Regions from separate parts of the Homo sapiens genome. Here region 1 is linked to region 2. Evidence: promoter capture Hi-C in 16 types of primary human blood cells and fetal thymus (Javierre and others, 2016). All regions are on one chromosome and are shown on one strand. Each heading gives the region's core, a stretch centred on a gene start or on the middle of the fragment in contact. The rest is flanking DNA. Distances are from core to core; before and after follow the strand shown. Region 1 holds the start of TMEM25 (transmembrane protein 25). Region 2 holds the start of SCN2B (sodium voltage-gated channel beta subunit 2).

What was found. The method cuts DNA at HindIII sites, captures the fragments that hold promoters and counts their contacts. A CHiCAGO score of 5 or more calls a contact.
Region 1: the fragment with the promoter of TMEM25 here is called in contact with a fragment that was not itself captured in region 2 in 3 of 17 cell types (activated CD4 T cells, total CD8 T cells and fetal thymus); the score reaches 7.0 in activated CD4 T cells.

Annotation. Positions count from the first base shown.
Region 1 is chr11:118,529,495-118,532,891 of GRCh38, forward strand. It overlaps TMEM25 (transmembrane protein 25), which reads left to right and starts at 1,698. Exons shown (of 9, transcript NM_032780.4): 1 at 1,698-1,740; 2 at 2,281-2,377; 3 at 2,656-2,967. The coding sequence starts at 2,308. It overlaps TTC36 (tetratricopeptide repeat domain 36), which reads left to right. Exons shown (of 3, transcript NM_001080441.4): 3 at 1,160-1,499. The coding sequence ends at 1,422. TTC36-AS1 (TTC36 and KMT2A antisense RNA 1) reads right to left here and starts at 1,281. Exons shown (of 3, transcript NR_120574.1): 1 at 1,010-1,281. RefSeq lists silencers at 160-454, 976-1,255, 1,376-1,815, 1,846-1,945. The HindIII fragment of the contact is 5,363 bases long and covers 1-3,397 here.
Region 2 is chr11:118,174,955-118,178,300 of GRCh38, forward strand. It overlaps SCN2B (sodium voltage-gated channel beta subunit 2), which reads right to left and starts at 1,685. Exons shown (of 4, transcript NM_004588.5): 1 at 1,408-1,685. The coding sequence starts at 1,477. The HindIII fragment of the contact is 605 bases long and covers 1,009-1,613 here.

The DNA.
Region 1 (3,397 bases), core at 448-2,947, 350 kb after region 2:
CATTCAGGTTATTCTAATTAAGTGAAGACAATGGGACCATGCTGGGGACCAAAGATGAGGCTAATGTGAAGGTATAAACCACGGAAACCTAGTACTACTTGACTGTTAGGAGCAGTGGTGACACAGGTGCTCCCAGAACCAGCAATGCCAGGCTAGGGAGTTTTGAGTCCACTCCAGGAACAATGGGAACCTCCCAGGAGCCCCTTATCCAGGCTTATCTGCCCCAGATCACTGGAGACAGCCTGCAGACCAAAACCCCAGAGAGATGCAGTGGTGATTCCAACTGGAGATTCCTCCAGACCAGCTCCTCCGAGGGAAACCAAGGAGTACTGCATTCTGAGCGCTTCTCCGGAGGCTCAGGCTCTTTGGGGGACTAGAGAACATGAGTGAATTGAAGCAGAGCCCGAAAGAAGCCAGCCTGGTGGACTTTAAGAAGGTGGCTGGCTGCCTGAAGTTCTGAGTTCAGAGTTCTGAGGCCCAACCCAAGTATTTTATGAGAATAATAACAATAAAAATGGTGCAGGCCAGCTCTGGCTCCAGGACCAAGGAAATTAGATACATGGAGATAACCAAAGAATGATGAAAGGCAATCAGTCCAGGATACAGGGGAGAGAGAAGGTGTTCTAAAGAAAGCAATGGAAAAGAGAAAACGGCCCTCAAAAGGAAAACAATGAGAAACTGTCTTGATTGTACTTGTAAGAAATGATTGTGCGGTTAATATTATTTTTTGAACCCTGACATTCAGAGTCAGTCACCTGGCACATAGTGGATGCTTAATAACAGGTGTGGAATAAATTGGCTGCTACTTGCCCGGGCAGTGGGCCAGACTCATAAACATAGTGGCCATTCAGAATCCTGCAACGTTCATGTTTTCGTGTATTAGCGGTGGAAAATAATAGGAACAAGGCGAGACCTGGACTTCAGTCCCAGCTCTGCCACTAAGTGGCTTGGCTGTAGAGCTTAACTCTTCCACAGTCTTCATCTGTGTAATGGGAATAACGATCCGTACCTCTAGCAGGTGCGAGGCGGGTTGTAAATGGCCACGCCCGGGAGCCGCAAGAACCACGGTGATCCGCGCGGCCGCAGGTGGGCTGGGGCTCGGGCAAGGCCGCCCTGGCCTCCGCTGACCCCCGCCCCGCCCGTCTCGTCGGTCCCGCAGGCGCCCTGGAGGATCTGGAACGCGCGGTGGAGCTGAGCGGCGGCCGGGGCCGCGCCGCCCGCCAGAGCTTTGTGCAGCGCGGACTCCTGGCGCGGCTGCAGGGCCGAGACGACGACGCCCGCAGGGACTTCGAGAGGGCGGCACGGCTGGGCAGCCCCTTCGCGCGGCGCCAGCTGGTGCTGCTCAACCCCTACGCCGCGCTGTGCAACCGCATGCTGGCCGACATGATGGGGCAGCTGCGCCGCCCCCGTGACAGCCGCTGAGCGCCGCGGACCCGGGCGTCCGCGGGCGAGGGGACGGGACTGGGCCCTGAACCAATAAAGCCGTCGGGCCTCACCGACTCCGCCTGCTCCTGCGTCCTGCCCGCGCCCGGAGAGAAGGGCACTCGGGGGTACTCGGCGCGGGCTGGGGACCAGCCGGGGGGTGGTGAGCCGCGGCCGCCCACCTGCCGGGTAAGGGCCCCTCGGGCCCGTGGTCGGGCATCGATTGGCCCCGCCTGGCGCAGCCCCCGCCCCTGCAGCGGACTGCGGTGCTCATCAGACCTGAGCAGTTGCTCCGGCGGCGCTCGGGGAGGGAGCCAGGTGAGCCGCCCCGGTGGCGGGGGGCGGGGGCGGGATGCTCGGCGACCCCACCCTCCGACCCTCTCCTCTTCCGCCGACATCCACCGGAGCCACCAACATCAGGAAAGGGGGCGTAGGGCGAGGGATGGGAGAGAGAACAGGGCAGGAGAGAGGATGGGAACAGGGCAGGAGAGAGAATAGGATTAGGAGAAAGGCGATCCCTTTGGGGGAGGGGCGCGTGGAGTATGTGTGTGAGTGTGCGTGTGTGCAAGGTGTGGTTGCACGGATGCTCGTTGCTTCTGCGTATCTGCGGGTGTGTGCCTCTTTGTATTGTAGCCTGGAGTCAGTGCTCGCTTCTGCGCCTGCAGGATGTCCATGTGTCTGCTGGGTGGGTCTGTGCCTTTGGGCTTTGCCGTTCGTGTCCGTGCCTTCGCCACTGGGGGCTGGTCTACATTTGCGTTTCCGTACATGGTTCTTTTTGTTTCTGGAGAGTAAATTCCTGGAGCAATTGCTAGGCCTGCCTGCTGTCACCTGGCTGACAGGCCCGCCCCCTTCTCTCAGCAGCCTAGGGCCTAGGCCCGGGCCACCATGGCGCTGCCTCCAGGCCCAGCCGCCCTCCGGCACACACTGCTGCTCCTGCCAGCCCTTCTGAGCTCAGGTACACCCCTGTTCAGTCGTTGACCAAGTCCTTCTGGGTTCCAAAGCCCCCTCTCTCCCCTGTCTGCACTTCTGTTTGGGTACCCACTCCAGGCCCCAAGCCCTGGAGTCCCTGTCCCCTTCACCCACCTACCCTAGGTCCAACCAGCCAGTCCCTGGTGAGAGGACTCAGGTGCCCTTTCCTTTGGCCTGCTGCTCTTCTCACTGGGCCAATTCCTGGTCACAGCACAGTACCAACCGTGCCTGAGCCCTTCCCAGAGGCCTCCTGCTGTGTTCCAGGTTGGGGGGAGTTGGAGCCACAAATAGATGGTCAGACCTGGGCTGAGCGGGCACTTCGGGAGAATGAACGCCACGCCTTCACCTGCCGGGTGGCAGGGGGGCCTGGCACCCCCAGATTGGCCTGGTATCTGGATGGACAGCTGCAGGAGGCCAGCACCTCAAGACTGCTGAGCGTGGGAGGGGAGGCCTTCTCTGGAGGCACCAGCACCTTCACTGTCACTGCCCATCGGGCCCAGCATGAGCTCAACTGCTCTCTGCAGGACCCCAGAAGTGGCCGATCAGCCAACGCCTCTGTCATCCTTAATGTGCAATGTGAGTGGCCCTGAGGTGGGCAGGGAGATAGGTTCTTTGCCCAGGGACCCCCAGCACCCACCAGGCAGGTGGTCCGCAGGACATTTAGCAGACACTTAAGCACTTTGCAAATATGAACTCATTTGATCCTCTGAGTAACCCCATGAGGTCATTACTATTGTCGTCACCATTTTACAAATAAGAAAACTGAGGCAGAAAGAGGTAAGCAATCTGCCCAGGGTGATGATCCCGCTGGTAAGAAGCAGAGCCAGGATTCACATCTGGGCATTTGGCTCTAGTATTTACACTCATAATCACTCCGAAATGCTGCCTCTCTGGCAGACCCAGCCATCCTGTTCCTCAGCATCCCCTCTGAGGAGAGGCCCAGGCCCCTGGCTCCCATCTGGGTTTGGGAAGAAAGGGCTAGAAGTATGAGGGGCTGTGGTGAGAG
Region 2 (3,346 bases), core at 61-2,560:
TTTCTTGAACATTGGGGAGTGGAATCCAACGTTTAAGAGAATGTGCTGAAGTCAGACACAGGGAGTTCAAATTTCAGCTCCCGTTACCATAGTCATCTGTTTCCTCCCTGTAACCTGAGTATAATAGAATCTACCTCCGATTGCTGTGAGGGCTAAACAAGATACACAGTGCCTGGGCTCACGAAAAGCATTCTTATGTTAGCCATCGTTGAGTTCCTGCCATGCACCAAATCACAAACACGTCAGGCAGTAGGCATTCTTTAGTTTACCCGGGAGGGAACTGAAGCTCAGAGGGGTTGAGTAACTTGCCTGTGATCATTACGTAAATGACAAAGGTGGCTTGAAACCCAGGTCCTGCCAGAGATTCCATAGCATTCCTGCTCTGATGTTAATATGCCAAGTAACTCAGCAAAGCAGGCTGGCAGGGCCTCTGCACTGTCTGTGTTTAGCACTCCTACTCCAAACCCAGCACATCACACCACAGAAAGAGAGAGAGCCTTTGTGGTGGGGAATAGTTCCATCAACAGTCCTTGGACTTGACTCTCAGTTGCTGCTCCAGCAATAAGTAAGTTTAGGAGCAAGAATGAAACTCTACAAAGCAGGCTTGCAAATAACTTTCTAGCCCACTTCCCCACCAGGAAGTCTCTGAGTGGTCAAATACAAACACTTGACAGGACAGTCTGCAAGACTGGGCTGGGCAGTTCTGAGGCTGGATTTAAAGGGCTGCAACCTCGCTCAGCCTGTGGGTTCCATTTTTTTCCTGAATCTCTACACCTGGCCCTTCCTCCATTCCATCCGGCCCAAGCCAAAGGTGCCTTCTCCATCAGTGCGTGCCTCAGCAGGTCTCCTCCCAACCCAGACATCATTCCCCAAGCCCGCTTCCCACCTACTCCCACACACGTTCCAACAGATCAGTGAGACCGAGTGCCAAGAAGCCAGACCCAGACTCAACTTTCTGCCACCAGCTCCCCTGCACACTCTCCTAATACCCTAAATCCACCAGGATCAAGCTTCTGAAAAGAAGCCCCTTAAGGGAGCATTAAGTCCCAGGACCCCGCATTTGCAGCAACTCCAAAAAATAATCCCTGAAGAGACTGCAGGTCAATCCACTCTCTGCCCCACCGCCACGTAGGTCCACTTAGGGGAAATCCAGAGAAGATTCACCTCCCTTGACAATTGTCAGCCCCCAGCAACACTCAGATCCCCTGACCCAACATTTCTGTGACTAAGTAGTCCCAGGGTTCTGCACTCCCCAGCAACGTCCCTTCCAGTCCCCAGCACCTCCCCTCCCAAGGACACAGAGGGAAAGCGCTAGCAATGTCTTCTTTCCTATCCCCTGCCCCCATCCTCTTCACATTGCGGCTACACTTCTGAACCCTCGGGAGCATGCAGATGTGTCTAACTTACCCAAAGAGAAAAAGAGACTGAGCCCCGTGAGGCTGAAGGCAGGGCGAGGTAGCCAGGCATCTCTGTGCATTTTCAGAGACTGAGATGTTAGTCGGGTGGGCTACGGGAGAGGGTGATTTGAGGGGGCGAGAACTACAAGGGAGGAATGGTTGGATGCTAAAAAAAAATGCACGGATGTACTTCAAAGACATATACAACATTAAGGAAGCTTTATTTCCATCTCTCTAATATGGCCGGCTTGTATGTTGCTGCTAAAAAGAGAGAGAGAGGGAGTGTGTAAAGGAGAGAGAGAGAGATGGGGGGGAGAGAAAAGGGGGATGGGGTAAATATTGTGGTTGGTGGATTTCAAAAAGCAGGTGGGAGGGCATAAAAAAGTCATTTTGAAAAGAACAAAATCCCAGAAATTTTTACCCTCTAAAACAAGAAATAATACAAACCCTGCTTTTTGACTTCACTGGGATGATTGTTGGATTTTGAAAGCTATTAGAGGAATCCATTTATTTTAAAGATTCTGGAAAGGGAAACACCTTTTATCATTTAAAAACACCCCCAGGCTGACGCAGTGGCTCACACCTGTAATTCCAGCACTTTGGGAGGCCGGATGGATTGCTTGAGTCCAGGAGTTCAAGACCAGCCTGGGCAACATGGCAAAACCCATCTCTACTAAAAATACAAAATTTAGCCAGGCATAATGTCGCATGCCTCTTGTCCCAGCTACTGCACCGCACTCCAGCCTGGGCCCTGCCTCCAGAGGGAAAAAAAAAAAAAAAACCTAAAAAAAAAAAGGAGATGCTTGTTTTTGTGTTATTGAAAAGGGTTCAGGAAAGTGAGTTGGAGAGACTTTCAAGGGGTAATGCTTTCCTCATTCTAGCGTTTCCTCTGAAAACAGAACATGTTGAAGCAGGCTGATAGAAAAATACCCAAGAGATCTTACAATTGAATGTAACACAGGCCTTTGGATAAACCTGATTCAAACAAATCAACAGGAAAGAAAAGTTTTTGAGACAATTGGGAAAAGTTAAATATGAACTACATAGTAGATTGTATTAATGAATCATTCTTAATTTTGTTGGGTCTGATAAAATGTGGTTTTGTCCTTTAACATCTCTATCTGTTAAAGACACACATGGGTGGCCGGGCGGGGTGGCTCACACCTGTAATCCCAGCACTTTGGGAGGCCGAGGCAGGCAGATCACCTGAGGTCAGGAGTTCGAGACCAGCCTCCCTAACATGGTGAAACCCTGTCTCTACTAAAAATACAAAAGTTAGCCGGGTGTGGTGGCGTGTGCCTGTAATCCCAGCTACTTGGGGGGACTGAGGCAGGAGAATTGCTTGAACCTGGGAGGCGGAGGTTGCAGTGAGTCGAGATCACTCCGCTACATCCCAGCCTGGGCCACAGAGTGAGACTCCATCTCAAAAATACATATATATATATTCAACGAAAAAAAGAGATGGGAGAATAGGTGACACGAGACTAGTTGTTTTGCTTGATAATTGAAACTAGCTGGTGATGGGTGTAAAGGGTTTGTCATATAGTTCTCTCTTCTTTTGTGTATGTTTAAAACTTTTCTTTTGAAGAAGGAAGAAAAAATAAGCTAACGTCATAAGTAGGAGAACTTGGTGGGTGGAGTCCAAGGTGGTCCTAAGCAGAGGTGACCCCCATACTCCTGGGGAGATGGTTAAGTAGGGCAGAGATTCGCATGCAGCAGTCACCTGCATTTGTGATGGGCCCTTTGTGTACCAAACAGGGAGCAACTAATATTTTTGAGCATAAACTCTGTGCCAAGCACTTTACATGTGATATCTCAATTTTTTATTTTTTTATTTTATTATTTTTTTTTAGACAGGGTCTCGCTCTGTCACCCAGGCTGCAGTGCAGTGGTGCAATCTCAGCTCACTGCAATCTCTGCCTTCTGGGTTCAAGCAATTCCTGTGTCTC